Linked DNA regions of Homo sapiens: regions 1, 2 and 3 are each linked to region 4. The links are contacts of gene promoters, found by promoter capture Hi-C in human tissues and cell types (Jung and others, 2019). All regions are on one chromosome and are shown on one strand. The core of a region is centred on a gene start or on the middle of the fragment in contact, and the rest is flanking DNA. Distances in the headings are between cores, read along the strand shown. Region 1 has its middle 21 kb from the start of GP2. Region 2 has its middle 30 kb from the start of GPRC5B. Region 3 has its middle 90 kb from the start of GP2. Region 4 holds the start of GPR139 (G protein-coupled receptor 139).

Evidence for each region. Contacts are between HindIII fragments. The study calls those that stand out against the background at their distance.
Region 1: a fragment that was not itself captured here is called in contact with the fragment with the promoter of GPR139 in region 4 in 1 of the 25 tissues and cell types used here (spleen).
Region 2: a fragment that was not itself captured here is called in contact with the fragment with the promoter of GPR139 in region 4 in 1 of the 25 tissues and cell types used here (H1 embryonic stem cells).
Region 3: a contact is called between a fragment that was not itself captured here and the fragment with the promoter of GPR139 in region 4, in 2 of the 25 tissues and cell types used here (aorta and dorsolateral prefrontal cortex).

Annotation. Positions count from the first base shown.
Region 1 is chr16:20,304,613-20,308,518 of GRCh38, reverse strand. No RefSeq gene overlaps it. Among named protein-coding and RNA genes, the nearest start is that of GP2, 21 kb to the left of the region's middle. The HindIII fragment of the contact is 5,150 bases long and covers 1-3,906 here.
Region 2 is chr16:19,913,177-19,916,958 of GRCh38, reverse strand. No RefSeq gene overlaps it. Among named protein-coding and RNA genes, the nearest start is that of GPRC5B, 30 kb to the right of the region's middle. The HindIII fragment of the contact is 7,764 bases long and covers 1-3,782 here.
Region 3 is chr16:20,235,040-20,239,020 of GRCh38, reverse strand. It overlaps the pseudogene SNRPEP3. Among named protein-coding and RNA genes, the nearest start is that of GP2, 90 kb to the left of the region's middle. The HindIII fragment of the contact is 3,450 bases long and covers 304-3,753 here.
Region 4 is chr16:20,071,696-20,075,529 of GRCh38, reverse strand. GPR139 (G protein-coupled receptor 139) reads left to right here and starts at 1,640. Exons shown (of 2, transcript NM_001002911.4): 1 at 1,640-2,040. The coding sequence starts at 1,914. The HindIII fragment of the contact is 2,569 bases long and covers 1-2,545 here.

The DNA.
Region 1 (3,906 bases), core at 849-3,348, 230 kb before region 4:
CACAGGCAAACCACAAACACACATGCCCACTTAGCCCCCCACACAGGCCTGTATACCCAGAGGCGTCTATCCACACCAACACACACATTCTAACAGACACACATATCAACCTCACGTGCCCAAAGGCACAGATGCACATGCAGAAAGCCTCAGAGACCCTCAAGTCAGCCACTTACATATTTATTGTCATGAATTACTTTGTAACAACCAATATTTTTTAACACCCCCTACGTATAAGGCATTATTTTAAGTGCATTTTGGGCATTATATCATTCCACCCTCACATTAGACATTGAAGGTAGCCACTATTATTACCTTCAATTTAGTGACGAGTAAACCGGTGCTTTAAAAAGATAATTACTCAAAGGCCTATAGCTTTTAAATGCTGATTTCAGGGCTTGAACCCAGGTAGCCAGACGTTGAAGCAAATGCTCTAAACTAGACTCTGTATCCTGCCTCCATTTATATATAACACTTAACACACACACACACATAAACACACACACACACAGTGCGGCACCCATATACACACAAACGTATATGTGTATAACATATATGCACCCACTTGCAAACAGGTATGTGGACAGACACATGCATTTTCCAGCAAAGGCCCTCACACATACACAGGCATTAATAGTCATGGGCGTATAGATGTTGAGATGTGTGCGCTGACTTATGCATCATGATTTAGTGCAGACACACCAATGGAACTTCACATATAACTTAATACAGAAAAAAAACCCACAGAGACACTCCAATGTGTCATACGTGCACACACATATGTCTGCACATGCACGCATACATATACACATAAACACACACATACATCCCTACGAGACACAGGATCTGGATCCAACTCTCCTAGAACCAGGATTCCTGCCATGTTTCTCTCCCATCAGCTTACATCTCCCACCCCCAGTGCTGTTCAGCTGGGCTCTGGGGCAAGATAAATTCCAGCTGCAGAGGGCTCAGTGAAATGGGCCCTGGACCCAGCATCTGAAAGTTCTGGAGAGTAAGGATGTTGGGGATAGCCAGAAGCAACCTGAAGACTAGTCTTCCATACCCAGGAAGACTGGCCTCTCAGGTTTGAAGAAGCCTTTGCAAGCAGCTGGTAGAGGATACCGAGTGGCTTAAGGTGCCCTCCCCTCCAAGAACTTCAACTCTTCTTGGGGAAACAGAATGCAGATACTGGGCAGCAAAAGCTTAGTAGTGTAAGACTGAGACAGATACTGCAAGACTCAGAGAAGGGAGAGCTCAGCCCAGCCTGGGAGAAGAGGGAAGGGCTCAATCCCAGTCCCTTCATTTCATGGATGGAAATTAAGGTCCAGCAAAGACAAGTGGCATGTCCATCCTTAATGACCAGGCAGGGATGAAGGTGGCAGGGAGAAAGGTAAAACTGGTCACCTGAAGGAAATTTGGCATGGGAACCCCAGAGGATACACCCCACCCATCCTAACTCATTTCATAATCTCTCCTCACTCCGTTCCTCTCTTTCAGCCTCTTTCTCCTGTGAAGGGCCAGAAATCACCCTCATATTTTCTATCATATTAGATTCTCCCTTCTAAAAGTCTATCAAATTCATCCACTTTTCTTCAACCCCATTGAATCTGATCTTTTCCGGGCTACTTTCATCTCTCACCTTAACCACCATAATAGCTTCTTAAGTGGCCTTTCTTCAGGCTCACCTCTCTCAATCCATTCTCTACTCTGCAGCTAGTGAGCATTTAAAACAAAAGACACTTTCTCCTTTAGATCGCTCCAGAGGCTCTTTACCTTCTATAGGATGAGTTCTGCCTGCTTACCTGACAGATCACATTCTTCACCATCTGAGCCATTGCCTGCCTCTCCAGACTTAGCCCTTAAACATATCCCCTTCATAACCCAGCTTCCAGTGCCACGGAATTTCTCAGGCTCCCTGAGCTGTTCTATTGCACTCTACCCTACTCTCGTGTGCTGTTTTGCTGCCTGGAGGACACTTCCCCTTATTGGGGTTATTTCTCCTATGAAGGCTTCCTGGATCCCCCTGTCCAGTGTAGAGTAGGCAAATCAATCAATAGAAAATAGACCCACAAACGACAAATAATATAATCAGCAGACCAGAAAGTCAACACAGTTTAAAAAATACATTCCATTTTTTTCAAGAAAGTAGAGAAAAGCATGAGCATGATAAGTAGAGAAAAGGAAGATATATATTTTAAAAAACTACTACCCTACTTTATGACCTCTTCTTTACAGACTTTTTTTTTTTTTTTTTTTTTTTTGAGATGAAGTCTCACTCTTGTTGCCCAGGCTGGAGTGCAGTGGCGCGATCTCAGCTCACCACAACCTCTGCCTCTCCGGTTCAAGTGATTCTCCTGCCTCAGCCTCCCGAGTAGCTGGGATTACAGGTGACTGCCACCACGCCTGGCTATTTTTTTGTATTTTTAGTAAAGATGGGGTTTTACCATGTTGGCCAGGCTGGTCTCGAACTCCTGACCTCAGGTGATCTGCCTGCCTTAGCCTCCTAAAGTGCTGGGATTACAGGCATGAGCCACTCTACAGACTTTGATAATCACATGTAGCGTCTGCATCTGAAATTGTTTTTACATCTGTCCCACCTGCACCCTTCACCCCAGGCTGTTAGTTTCTTGAGGACAAGGACTTCATCATTTTCAAACATTATTGGTCAAATAAATGAAGAAATAGGCTGCATCCTTTCTCTTTATCCTTTGACCTCCTCTATCATCCTGCTGTTATCTTCCAGAAGGAGAAGAAACAGCTTCACAGGAAAAGTAGAGGAGATTTTCCCATTATGGTGAAAGTGCCAAATCAGAATGTGAAATAGGAATTCTGGGCTCTGTACCAGGCATTTACTCCTATGCTGTTAGCTGATGTTAAAGAGGGTGGATTTCTTTTCCCTTAGGTCTCACCTTCTGTGCCTTCAGGGGAAGTTGGTTGGAAGTTTGAATGGTTTGTTGTTGTCGTCATTGTTTTGTATTTAGGAGGGCTGTAATGGAACGAATACAATGGTTATTGATGGAGAGTAAGTTGAGAGAAGCTCAAGGGTGATTATTTAATGGCAGGAGGGGGAGAAAAAAAGTAAATCTATAAAGAGCTTGGGACACCAAGTCCAGAACTTCATGCATATAACAGCCAATTAACAATCAAATTTTAGAAAGTCTCAGAGAGGGACTTGCAAACACACAAATATCAGAAAAAGCATTTGTAGCGGAGACCAACCAAAACACTGGATTCTGGGAGCCTCTGTCTGAGAATGGAATTAACTTTGTTTCATAGAAGACTTTATAGGCTTTATAGGGGAGACGGGGAAGGACCTAGTTGTACATATTTCATTTCAATGCATAAACATATACCTATATACCTACAAGACACAGGATCTGGATCCAACTCTCTAAGAACCAGGACTTGGACTGTGAGTCCCAGAACATCCATGAAAGTGTTCCCACTTCTTATATGGAAGATGAGAGTAGTAGCTGCCCTAATAACTGGAGGGTTGCTAGAGAGATAAAGGAGACAAGGGATAGGTCACTTTGTGTAGTCACTTTGCAATGCATAAAAGCTAGTTCAACCATTGTGGAAGACAGTGTGGTGATTCCTCAAGGATCTAGAACTAGAAATACCATTTGACCCAGCCATCCCATTACTGGGTATATACCCAAAGGATTATAAATCATGCTGCTATAAAGACACATGCACACGTATGTTTATTGTGGCACTATTCACAATAGCAAAGACTTGGAACTAACCCAAATGTCCATCAATGATAGACTGGATTAAGAAAATGTGGCACATATACACCATGGAATACTATGCAGCCATAAAAAAGATGAGTTCAGGTCCTTTGTAGGGACATGGATGAAGCTGGAAACCATCATTCTCAGCAAACTATCGCAAGGACAAAAAACC
Region 2 (3,782 bases), core at 166-2,665, 160 kb after region 4:
TGCTAAAAGAGAGAACAAATAGACAGATCTATTTTGAGTTTCACATAAGCCATTCAGAGAAAGTGATATTTATATACATTTATTTATTTATTTATTTATTTATTTATTTATTTATTTATTTATTTGATACAGAGTCTCATTCTATTGCCTAGGATCCAGGGCAGTGGTGTGATCACAGCTAACTGCAGCATTGACCTCCCAGGCTCAAGCAATCCTGCCTCAGCCTCTCAAGTCGCTGGGACCACAGGCACACACCACCATGCCCGGCTAATTTTTGCGTCTTTTGTAGAGACAGGGTTTCGCCATGTCTATCAGGCTGGTCTTGAACTCCTGGACTCAAGTGATCCACCCTCCTTGGTCTGCCAAAGTACTGGGATTACAGGTGTGAGCCACCACACCCAGCCAGAAAGTTATATTTAAACCAAGACCTGGTATTTGTCAGGAATTTTATTTAGTTGATAGTAACAGAGGCTGGACTTAGTAGCTTTAGTGAAACAGAGCTTCTTTTTTCGCTTGTTCCACAGGAAATCAGAAAGTAGGCAGCCCAGGACTGATTTGGGAGTTCCAGCAGTTATCAGGACCCCAGCCTCCTTCTGTCTTTCTGCTCCATACCCCTTAGCATGTGGTTTTCATCCTCAAGGTTGTCTCATGGTCCAAGATGGTTGCCAGAGCTCCAGCCACTACATCTGCCTCACAGACAACAACATGGGACAAGGACATTAGAGACATAAGGGACGCCTCCCCAGTCCACTTAAGGAGCTGACCATAAGTTTCACAAAATATTCCACATCCATCTCATTGGCCCAAAACTAGTTACGTGAATATCGCACGCTGGAAGAGAGGCTGGGGCATGTGAGCTCTAAAGAGTTGCCCAGGGTTTTATTACCAAAAAGGGGAAATTATGATTGAGAGGTAATACGTAGCCCCTGTTATGGACTGGGAGAATAAACGGGAGATAATTAAGTGAAAGTGTTGTGGGGAGCAGGTTCCAGGCAGAGGGAATAGCAAATACAAAGGATCCAAGAGAAGGAGGTTGGGCCGGGGCACAGCGGTTCACACCTGTAATCCCAGCACTTTTGGAGGCCAAGGCAGAAGGATCGCTTACGCCCAGGAGTTTGAGACCAGCCTGGGCAACATAGAGAGATCCCGTCTCTACAAAAAATACCAAAATAAATAAATAAATAATAGCCAGCCGCGGTGGTATGTGAATAAAAATAAAAATAAATTTAAAAAATACTCTGTTGCCCAGGCTGGAGGGCAGTGGTGCAATCATGGCTCACTGCAGCCTCGACCTCCTGGGCTCAGGTAATCCTCCCATCTCAGCCTCCTGAGTAGCTGGGACTACAGGCACATACCACCATGGCTGACTAATTTTTCAAAAATAAAAATAAAAATATTAAAAAATAAAATAAATTTTAAAATATTCAAAAATAAAAATAAAATTTAAAAATATTTTTGAATATTTTAAATATAGTGGGCCGGGCGCGGTGGCTCACGCCTGTAATCTCTGCACTTTGTGAGGCCGAGGCAGGTGGATCACCTGAAGTCAGGAGTTCAAGACCAGCCTGGCCAACATGATGAAACCCCCTCTCTACTAAAAATACAAAAACTTAGCTGGGTGTGGTGCCACACTCCTGTAATCCCAGCTACTCAGGAGGCTGAGGCAGGAGAATCACTAGAACCTGGGAGGCAGAGGTTGCAGTGAGCCGAGATTGCACCACTGCACTCCATCCTGAGCAAGAAGAGCAAAACTGCGTCTCAAAATAAAATAAAATAATAAATAAATATATATATATTTAACGAGCGAGATTCCATCTCGAATTTGAATATTTAAAATATTCAAAAAATTATATTTTAATAAAATTAAAAATAATTTTTATTTTATTCAAAAATAAAAATAAATTAAAGAAATAAAAAGAAGGAGGTTGGTCTGTTCTCAGAACTGAAAGGAGACCAGCATGGTTGGAGCACATTCAATGGGAGAAGATGAGGAACCAGGGGAAGGAGAAATACCCAGGCTCGCAGGCACATCAGCAAACCCAGCTGCATGCCTTCCACTCTGGGCGAAGCCTTGGCATCAAACAGACCCATGTTCATATTCTAACATCACCTTTTACAACTGAGAGCCCTCAGGTAAGTCTTTTAACTTACCTGAGCCTCCACTTCCTTACCTGTAAAACAAGAATTATACCTGTATGATTTCTTATTTGAATAAGAATTTGAATAATAGATTTCTTATGTGAATTAAATGAGATAATGCATATAAGGAGGTTAGCACAGCGCCTAACACATATTGAGCACACAGTATTATTGATTCGCTACACATTGACCATGAAGACTTACGTGATTGTGGCCTAGTCAAGAGTCAAGGTTGTAACTCCAGGCTCGAGCAAATTCACTGGCTTAGTGCTTAAAAGTTAGTCATAGTTAGTGCTTAACGTAAAAGTTGGGTATGGGACAGGCACAGTGGCTCAAGCCTGTAATCCCAGCACTTTGGGAGGCTGAGGCAGGCGGATCATTTGAGGTCAGGAGTTCGAGACCAGCCTGCATGGTGAAACCCCACCTCTACTAAAAATACAAAAAAAAATTAGCCAGGCATGGTGATGCATGCCTGTAATTCCAGCTACTCAGGAGGCTGAGGCACAAGAATCACTTGAACCCAGGAGGCAGAGGTTGCAGTGAACCAAGATCTCGCCACTGCACTCCAGCCTGGGCAAGAGCAAGATTCCATCTCAAAACAAAAAAAAAACAAAACAGAAAACAAAAAAACAATAGCTGAGTGTCACGGGGCATGCCAGTAGTCCCAGCTGCTCAGAAGACTGAAGCTGGAGGCTTGGTGGAGCCCAGGAGTTTGAGTTCATCCTGGGCAACATAGCAAGACCCTATCACAAAAAAATAAGAAGTAAAATAATAATAATGCAAAATAAAACATCTTTTAAAATGATAGGTGTTACTATTGTGGCTCTTGGTGAGGACAGCAGATGGCTCATCAGAATTTCTTCCAGAGCCTCTCTTGGCCTCCCCACCGTGCCAGGCAACCACGGAAACATTCAGTCTTCAGATTACCAACCTCAACTGCAAACTAGAAAGGAGGGTCCCAGAATGGAAAGTGCCACCCTAAGAATGGAAAGTGCCACCCTAAATTGCAAACAGACCCCCCGGGTGCCAGGCGAGAGCCTCAAACACGCTCTCTACTTTGCTCAGGCTCTCGGAGTCAATCAGCTCAGGCTCTGATGCAGAAACGCTTACCGCCCTGAACTCGAATAAAGCTCACACTCAGACTCCAGGAACCACCGTCTTTTACATCCCCATCGATCCTCTAAGCCTATTTTTATGATTCCTCTTCCCAGTGAGTGTTGTGTATATTTTTGGGCTGTGTTCCTCTCATAAATAAATAAATGTGTAGGTAAATACTAATAAGAGCTAGCATTTATTAAGCACTTGGCGTGGTGCCAGGGATGGTGCTGAGGGGTTTGCCTGTTATTTTATTTCACCATCATGATGACCTAATGAAACTGGCACCATAATGATCCGCATTTTACAGGAAAGGAAACTGACACTCAGAGGGATGAGGTCATTTGTCATTTCCCCCAAAAAAGGGGCAGAACAGGGATTTGACCTCAAGTCTGTCTGATCCAAAGCCCCGATTACTGAGTTCTGAGCAGCTCGTGTGGACATGAACCCAAACTTCATCTCACTTCCTAAGTGCCTTCCTTCCTTCGGTCCCCACTAATTAAGCTTCTGCCGTCGATGCCAAGCCGGACAGGGAAATGCTAAGTGCT
Region 3 (3,981 bases), core at 779-3,278, 160 kb before region 4:
GATCATACTAAAAGGAGATAATATTCCTCTGCTACAAAGTGTCTCCAACTAGAAATGATCAACGAAGTGAGAAACTGTTGAGAAGGATACAGTTTGTTTTGAGATGTCCTTTGTCCAATATAAACATTTATTCATATTGTTTTGATTACCCTTATGTTATTACAAGAAGGGAATAAATGCTATGGGATTATTTGTATTAAAAAAATGAAAGTTGGGGGGGAAAAAAGCACAAATACACTTGTGTTACTCCCTTGCTCAGAACTCTCCAGTGATTCTCCTTTGCCTTCAGGAGACAGTCTCAATTTATAAATGGGGAAACTGGAGTTTGAAGAGGTTAAAACATTTGCCCAAAGCCACACAGGTAGTAAATGACATAGGATTTCAACCCAGACTTTCCATGTCCACATTCTACCTTTTTCACCACTAAGATATACCAAGGATAAAAGAATAGGTGATTACAAGGTATGGATGGGTGAACAGATGAAATTACAAAAGGGACAGAAACACAGGATAGAAGCATGAGTGGAAGTCTAGAAGGATGGCAGACTCTAGAAGGAAAGGATGGGTGGATGGATGAATGGAAGGGTGGAAGGATAGAAGAATAGAAAGACAGAAGAATAAATGGACTGAAGGATGAAAATATGGAGGGATTCTCCTGAGTTGCATTCACTCCCTCTGTCTTACCTAGGTTTACCTAGCAAGGGTTCTGTCCCTGGACACCTACCTGAGACATTTGCTGAGAACACAGCAAATCCTATGGACACTTCCATTTCCTAGCTGTTAGTTTCCTTTTCCTCCATCTGTTCAAACCCAGTTCATCTCTGAACAGGTCTCTCTTGGTAACCAGCTTCCAGGGAACTGACCACTTCTGTCTTCTTCCAGAAGCTCAGGTTTTTCGATGACCAGGGACCAAATTTTGAATCTTAAGAACGAACATTCACTAGGCACTTACTGTATGCTAATTGTATAATTCTGTCATTTAATCTTCACAACACACTTACACGGTAGGTACTGTAATCCTCTCCATTCTGAAGATGAAGAAATAGAGTCACAGAGATCTCACATAATTTACTCAAAGTTGCAAAACTACAGAGTGGTACATCCCAGGATTGCTGAGGCAATCAGAACCCGAGGTGTGCACACATAATGACTACACTATACTTTTTCTCTCTTTAGCTACCTCAACTGGTAGCTCCATTCCCCGTATTTGGATGGAAAATCTATTATCAGTCCATGAGGACTAGAGTCACATTATCTGTTAAGCCCTTACCTATGGCATTTCTCATGCACCTACCAATTTATACTGAACAATAGTCATGATGAACAGCCACTAAGTGCAAGTTACAAAAGTTTCACCATTATGAAACCATAACCCTATATGCCACAAAGGCACCTCCCACATTGATTAAAGGGCCACTGGCATTTTGAGAAAAACAGTCCTATCAGTGACATAGCCTAGTTGGAACAAAAGATCCACAGAATTGTGATGAATGAGACTGTGGGCAAGCACCCATCTAATTTGGTTGAAAATATACCACAGTGGTTTCAGAATCTGGCCAACCTGGATTCTGGCTCCAGCTCTGTCATTTGGTTAAGATATGTGATGTCAGCCAGTACTTGACATCTCTGAGCCTCAATTTTCTTATATGCAAAATGGGGGGAATAATAGCAGCTTGTATGAATAGATGTAAGAATGAATGAGATAACCCGTACAAAGGGCTTAGTACAATCAGAAATACACAATTGATCATTATCATGGTGTGGTTGTTATATCCAGACCGCTGGAGCAACTATGTTTCTCTCCATCTCTCTCTCTCTCTGTCCCCCTCTGTGTGTATGTGTGTGTGTTCAAACAAAGCAAAAAATCAAATTCAGCACACTTCGACCAAAGGTCCAATCCTCTTTCCTCTGTTTGTTTGTTTTTCCTTTTCCAGAAGCTTCCCAAAGTCCTCCTGCCAGAGAATCAGTTGGGTGAACTCCTCCTCTGGCTTGATTAACTTCCCCTTGTTAACTGACCGGGTTCAATGCAATTTAATTTCATTGAGAGGAAGTGGTTCAGAAATCAGGGTCATTTAATTTCTGAAAGGCGAGTGAAATGTTGCCTTTCCCAAGTGATCTTTCTGCCATTTGTTCCCGTTAAAATGAAAAGTACAGTGGTTAATACAATGGCTTCAAGGTTATGTTAGATCACCTTTGCAAGTAAGAGAAGAATTCTTTCTACAAGATTTTAATTAGGTCAAGTACAACTAATTCATCCTTTGGCACTTATTCCATTTCCTTTTCTTCTGTAATTACTGCCAGTGTAACGCTCCTCACACACACAAATGGAGCTGAAGAAAGCCCTGCGATTATCCTTTATTTCTCCTTCATGCAAGAAAGGAGGGGGTTATCTACTGCATTCAGCCTTTGTAAATCTGGGGACTATAGTCCTAATAGCCTTACTCACATGAGTGCCAACCTCCCTGTAGGAGTGAGGGGGTTCCTAATTTGATCCCAACACCACAACACACACATCTCCCCTTTACCTTATCTACAGAAGGTGACTAGGCATCAAGACAAAGGAAGTCAACTCAGGTACATGTTGTCAATCAATAAACCTGTATTGAGCGCCTACCAAGGGCTCAGTAGGGTGTTAGGTGCATGGGAGTGGGGTTGCAAAAGACTTAAAGGAGCTTAGTCAGGTTTGGCGAGACAGATAATTAGCAGGTAAAATAAATCAGCAGTACTCAGCTTGGTTCTAGAAGAGCGAAGGCACTGTGTGTGGTGGAGGACATGAAGGAGGTGGGGGAGGCAACTGAACGCTTCAAGGAGGAGGTAAGCCTTGAGTTGACCTTGGAAGCACCAGTAGGATGCAGATCTCTCGCTCTTTTAAAAATACGTATTTATTGAGTGCCTAATATGTGCTGGGCATTGTCTAAGTATTTTATATGCCATATTTCATTTACTCCTTTCTTCGATCCTGACAGGCAGGTGCTGTCTTTGCCCCCACGTTACAGATGAGAAAACTAAGACTCTGAGATGTAAAGCAGTGAAATGTTCAAGAACATATGACACTGGCAAAGCTTGGATTCAAACCCAGGTTTTTTTTCCTTTTCTTTCTTTTTTTTTTTTTTTTTTTTTGGAGATGGAGTCTCGCTCACTCTGTCACCAAGTCTGGAGTGCAGTGGCACAATCTTGGCTCACTGCAACCTCCACCTCCCAGTTTCAAGTGATTCTCCTGCCTCAGTCTCCTGAGTAGCTGGGATTATAGGCACACACCACCACGCCCAGCTAACTTTTGTATTTTTAGTACAGACAAGGTTTCACCATGTTGGCCGGGCTAGTCTCGAACTCCTGACGTCAGGTAATCCGCCTGCCTTGGCCTCCCAAAGTGCTGAGATTACAGGCATGAACCACAGCACCCAGCCCCAAATCCAGGTTTTCATCATAGCACTTGTCACTGGCTGTAATTCTCTTGCTTTAATTGTGTATTTATGAGTCTTCTCCCTCTAATATGTGAACTCCAAGAGAGGAAGACTTTATCTGGCTTGATTACTGCAGACTACTCAACATCTGGATCCCTGACTGGCATAGGGTAGGTGATCAGCAAGTACTTGTGGAATAACAGACTGGATCGCATACTCCAAGAGCCAAGAGGAGAAGGATGCTATGCTATAAACTCCAACGAGTCAGTTTCCGTGGCTGTCTTGCACCCTGCAGTATCACTAGCACCCAGGACAATGTCCACAGTACATGACAGCTACTCAATCACTGTTGAATGAAGAAAGGAGAGAAAGAAAGATCACTGGAACAGAAGGACACTCACCAGTTTAGTAGAATGCAAATTCAGGTCAGCTAAACTATTATTCTTTGTCATTGATGGAGAAAGAAATTGTTACAGACTGAGCCAGAGATACTCACTGTCCTGAATCCATTCCCAAGAAGATCCAAATGCCTGGCAAGCCCGTGTTCCCGGTGATCCCCTCTGTGCTTGTCACTTCG
Region 4 (3,834 bases), core at 391-2,890:
GGTCATAATAAAATTTCAGTATCTAATGGGGCTTGAAATCTCAGACCTGGCCTCACTGGGCTGGGTCCATGTGACTCTAATCTGCCCTTTTGTGGGGCCACGTGCCTCCTTGCTTACCACAGACCCAGCTAGATCCAGTAGATGCCCCCCTTATGCAGACTGCCTGACTCTGTATGCTTTGGAGATTTCCACTCTGCCCTAGAGTGTCCCCCATCCCTGCCTGGGGTAACCTCTAACAAAGACAAGAACTGGATACATGCTCTTTGCTGGTCTTGAGGGACAGGGGTCTGCTCCACGTTGGGAGACCTGGAAGAGGCTGGGGAAAGCTTAGCCAGTTCCTTCTCTCCAGGAATGGATGTGATATAGGGGTGAGGGGCGTTGGGAAGCAGCGGGAGTGGGGGGTTTGAGGGCGGGGGGTCTTAGGCTTCTCAGACCCATCACAGCTCTTTGCATAGGCAGCTGCTACAGTCTGCTCCTGGGGATGCCTGGCCTGGGTGTTCCTGCAGAATCTTTAACTCTCTCACACTCACTGTCTTGAGCCCCAGACAGACACTATGTCCCTCTCTCTCTCTCTCTCTCTCTCCTCTCTCTCCTCTCTCTCTCTCTCTCTCTCTTTCTCTCCTCTCTTTCTCCTCAAGTCTGTGGTGGCCACACCCGGAACCCTCCACCTGCCTGCCCTGAGGAGAAAGGACCACCCACCCACACATTGCTTGGATCCCACCTGCCTTACAAATGCTACCCTTCACACAACCTTCAAGCACTCTCGACAAGCCCCCATGACTCCCGCGTGCGTTTTCGTATGTTTGGAGCGCCCTGTGAGTGTGGTCTTGTGCATGGTGATGAGGATGCCTGCGTGTTTTCAAGGGTCTGGGTGTGGGATGGGAGAGCATCCGCGTGCCTGAGTGAGCGTGTGAGTACACCGCATGCCTGGGTATTGTGTGTCTTTGTGTGAGCGTGGGCGAGTGCGTGTTTGAGTGTCTGCAACATCCTTATTCCTGACTGAAGGGCGGCATGCAGGAGGGGCTTCTCTTAGCCAGTCTGTATCCTCTTCAAACGCACTCCAGTTAGGGGACAGTTCACCGGCGGCCACCCCCAGAGTCGCCACACACACGCACAGGGAGGCACGCACCCCTCTTTCCAGAGCCAGCAAGCTCAGCTTCCCTTGTCGAGGAAAACCGACAACGCTTTAGCATCCTCGCTGCTCCAACAGCCCCACCCCTTCCCCCGTTCTTTGCCCTAGGTATAGAATCCTCTATCCGGAGATGGACTGGAAGCATTGGAGAGGGGCAAGAGAGGTGGCTGCGAGGAGAGTGGAGAAAGGCAAACTGAGGACACGCTGGAGGAGTGAGGAGCCGCTGCGGGAGAGGCAGATCCTACCCACACCACGCCCCTCCCTCGGGGTTGGAGATTGGGGATAGCCTGTTTTCCACTCCGGTCTTCCTTCGGGGCTCCCAGGTCTAACTGCATCTTCTCCCCTGAAAGTGGAGCCAAGCGAGGCGGCTGGGACCCCCTCCTCTTCCGCATCCCTCCCACCCCACACACACTCCGCTTCCAGGCAGCCGCTGATTGGCTGCGGGGAGCGGCGTCCCAGCCCCCCGGCTTTGAGGCGGGAGTGGAGCGGGTCCGAGGTGGGAGGCGCACAGACGGGCTCCGGGAGCCCCTCCCGAGGCCCCGCGCAGCGCGCCCCGCACCCTGCGCCCCGCGCCCTGCGGGAGGGCTGAGCCAAGACTCCAGGCGGGCAGGTGCGGAGCGAGCAGAGGGGATCACGGCCAAGGGTAGGAGCCAGTCCTGCGGGGAGAGAGGCGCTGCTGCTCCAGCTGCCGCTGCCTCCGCCGCCGCCACCACCGAGCCGGCGACCAGAGTCGGGCTGGCAGGCCGGGCGCGAAGCGGCAAGGGGAGCGAGGGGCGCGCTCATGGAGCACACGCACGCCCACCTCGCAGCCAACAGCTCGCTGTCTTGGTGGTCCCCCGGCTCGGCCTGCGGCTTGGGTTTCGTGCCCGTGGTCTACTACAGCCTCTTGCTGTGCCTCGGTTTACCAGGTGAGGGGCGTGGGGGAGAGGGAGGGAAGCCAGGAACCCCAAGTGCCGGGCAACCCTACCCAGAATCCCCCGTCCTCCCCCGTGCGTTCCCTGGCGCCCCCTCGGAAAAAGTTTAAGCTTTAAGGGCAACTATGGATATTTCCACACGGGGGGAAAGGAAGTTGCTGTGCCCTAGCTGGGGACCGTGTGTGTGTGTGTGCGCGCGCGAGCGTGTGTGTGTGTGTGTGTGTGTGTGTGATGACTGTGACGGCGGGCGATGGGCTGGGCATGTGAGCATGGATTCGAAGGTGCATTTGTGCGCGCATCTGGAGGGGGCGGCTTTCATGGGGTGGGGGCGTAGAGGGCTTTGTGTGTGTTTGGCTTGACTGCATGTTCTGGACAGAAGGCTTCGTGGAGGCTTCCCTTCTCCCGTGGCCCCTGCACGTCCACCCCACTTGGGGCACCTCTGCCCCTCTGCGTGTCCCCGCCTGACACGAGATGAAGCTGGAGACCCTGACATTGAGCACTCTCTTGCTCGGGGGGCACTGGAATGGAGAAAGAATGCCTAGCAAGAAAAGGGTCTCCCAGCTGGCTAAGGAGAATCAGGGGTTGGCTCTGGGACCATGCCCTGGCCAGGGCAAGGGTGCAGAGACACACAGGGCAGCCTGCGGTGGCTGCCACCTCAGGGGGTCACAGTCTCCTTGAGGACATGCCTGGCCCCCTGGCTTGGCCTCCAGGTCTACCCACCCTGGGCAGCTCACGGCTGCTGTGGATGTCTGGCTGGTCCCACATCTTAATGTCCTTTCCAAAGTGTGGCTGAGACTTGTCCTGAATTCCTGAAGAGAGCTGAGCTGCCGAGAAGGAGGGAGTGCTTGCCTGGGCCGTGTGCGAGAGAGAGCGAGAGAGAGAGAAAGCTTTTTTCCTGGGGCTCCAGCTTTGGGTGGACCCTCCTTGCAGGCAGTCTTGGTGACAAATAGATCCCTAAAGATTACTTGCATGCAGAGAGGAGAGAGGGACTGAAAGAAGCAGAGAGAAAGAGAGAAAAAAAATCCAGTGTACAGCCTGAAATCTTAGCATCATCTCCCTAGTCATCTCTTAGTCTGCGAACCTTAGCATCTTGCGATCCTGGGAACTTGGGAGCTGGATTTCTGAGAGCCTGGCTGAGATTTCCTTTCCCAAACATTCAACTTGGCAGTCAGGGCCCCTGATGAGATTGTTTCAATAAATCCCCCCTCCCAAATTTGGCAGGCATGAGAAAGCGCAAGTTTACTAATGTGTGAGCCTCTCTCCCCAAGCCAGTGATGAGGCTTTTATTCCTAACTAATCGCCACGGCTGCCCTAGGAGAGCAGCTCAGCCTCTGACTTGCCCTGCCGGGGTGGTAGCACATGTCCTGTAATTACCTTGAGCTGGGATTGATTTTAGTCCAGGTTCCACCTCCCCCCTTCAGCCCTTCGGAGCTTCTCTCCCCAGAGCACTGTTTTGGGAAATGAGTTTTTGAGAAGGTTGGTTATTTGATGATGCTTGCTGAACTGGAAAAGTGTAAGAACCTCTTTCCCCCTCAGCATTCCCATCAGAATGTCCCCCCAACAATCCACCCACCCTTGCACCTCCTCTACTGAGTGAGATAGCCACTCACTCACTCACTATCCCAGGCTTTTCTAATGAAACCATTTAAGGGACAGAGACAAAGACAAGCAGAGGTTGACCCTTCAAGAGTTCAAAGCAGGGACAAGAGGATGGAGAAAATGAGGAAAAACTTAGGCCTTTAAAGACCTCAAGGTGGAAGCCAAGGTACCTCGCACCTTCACATCCCA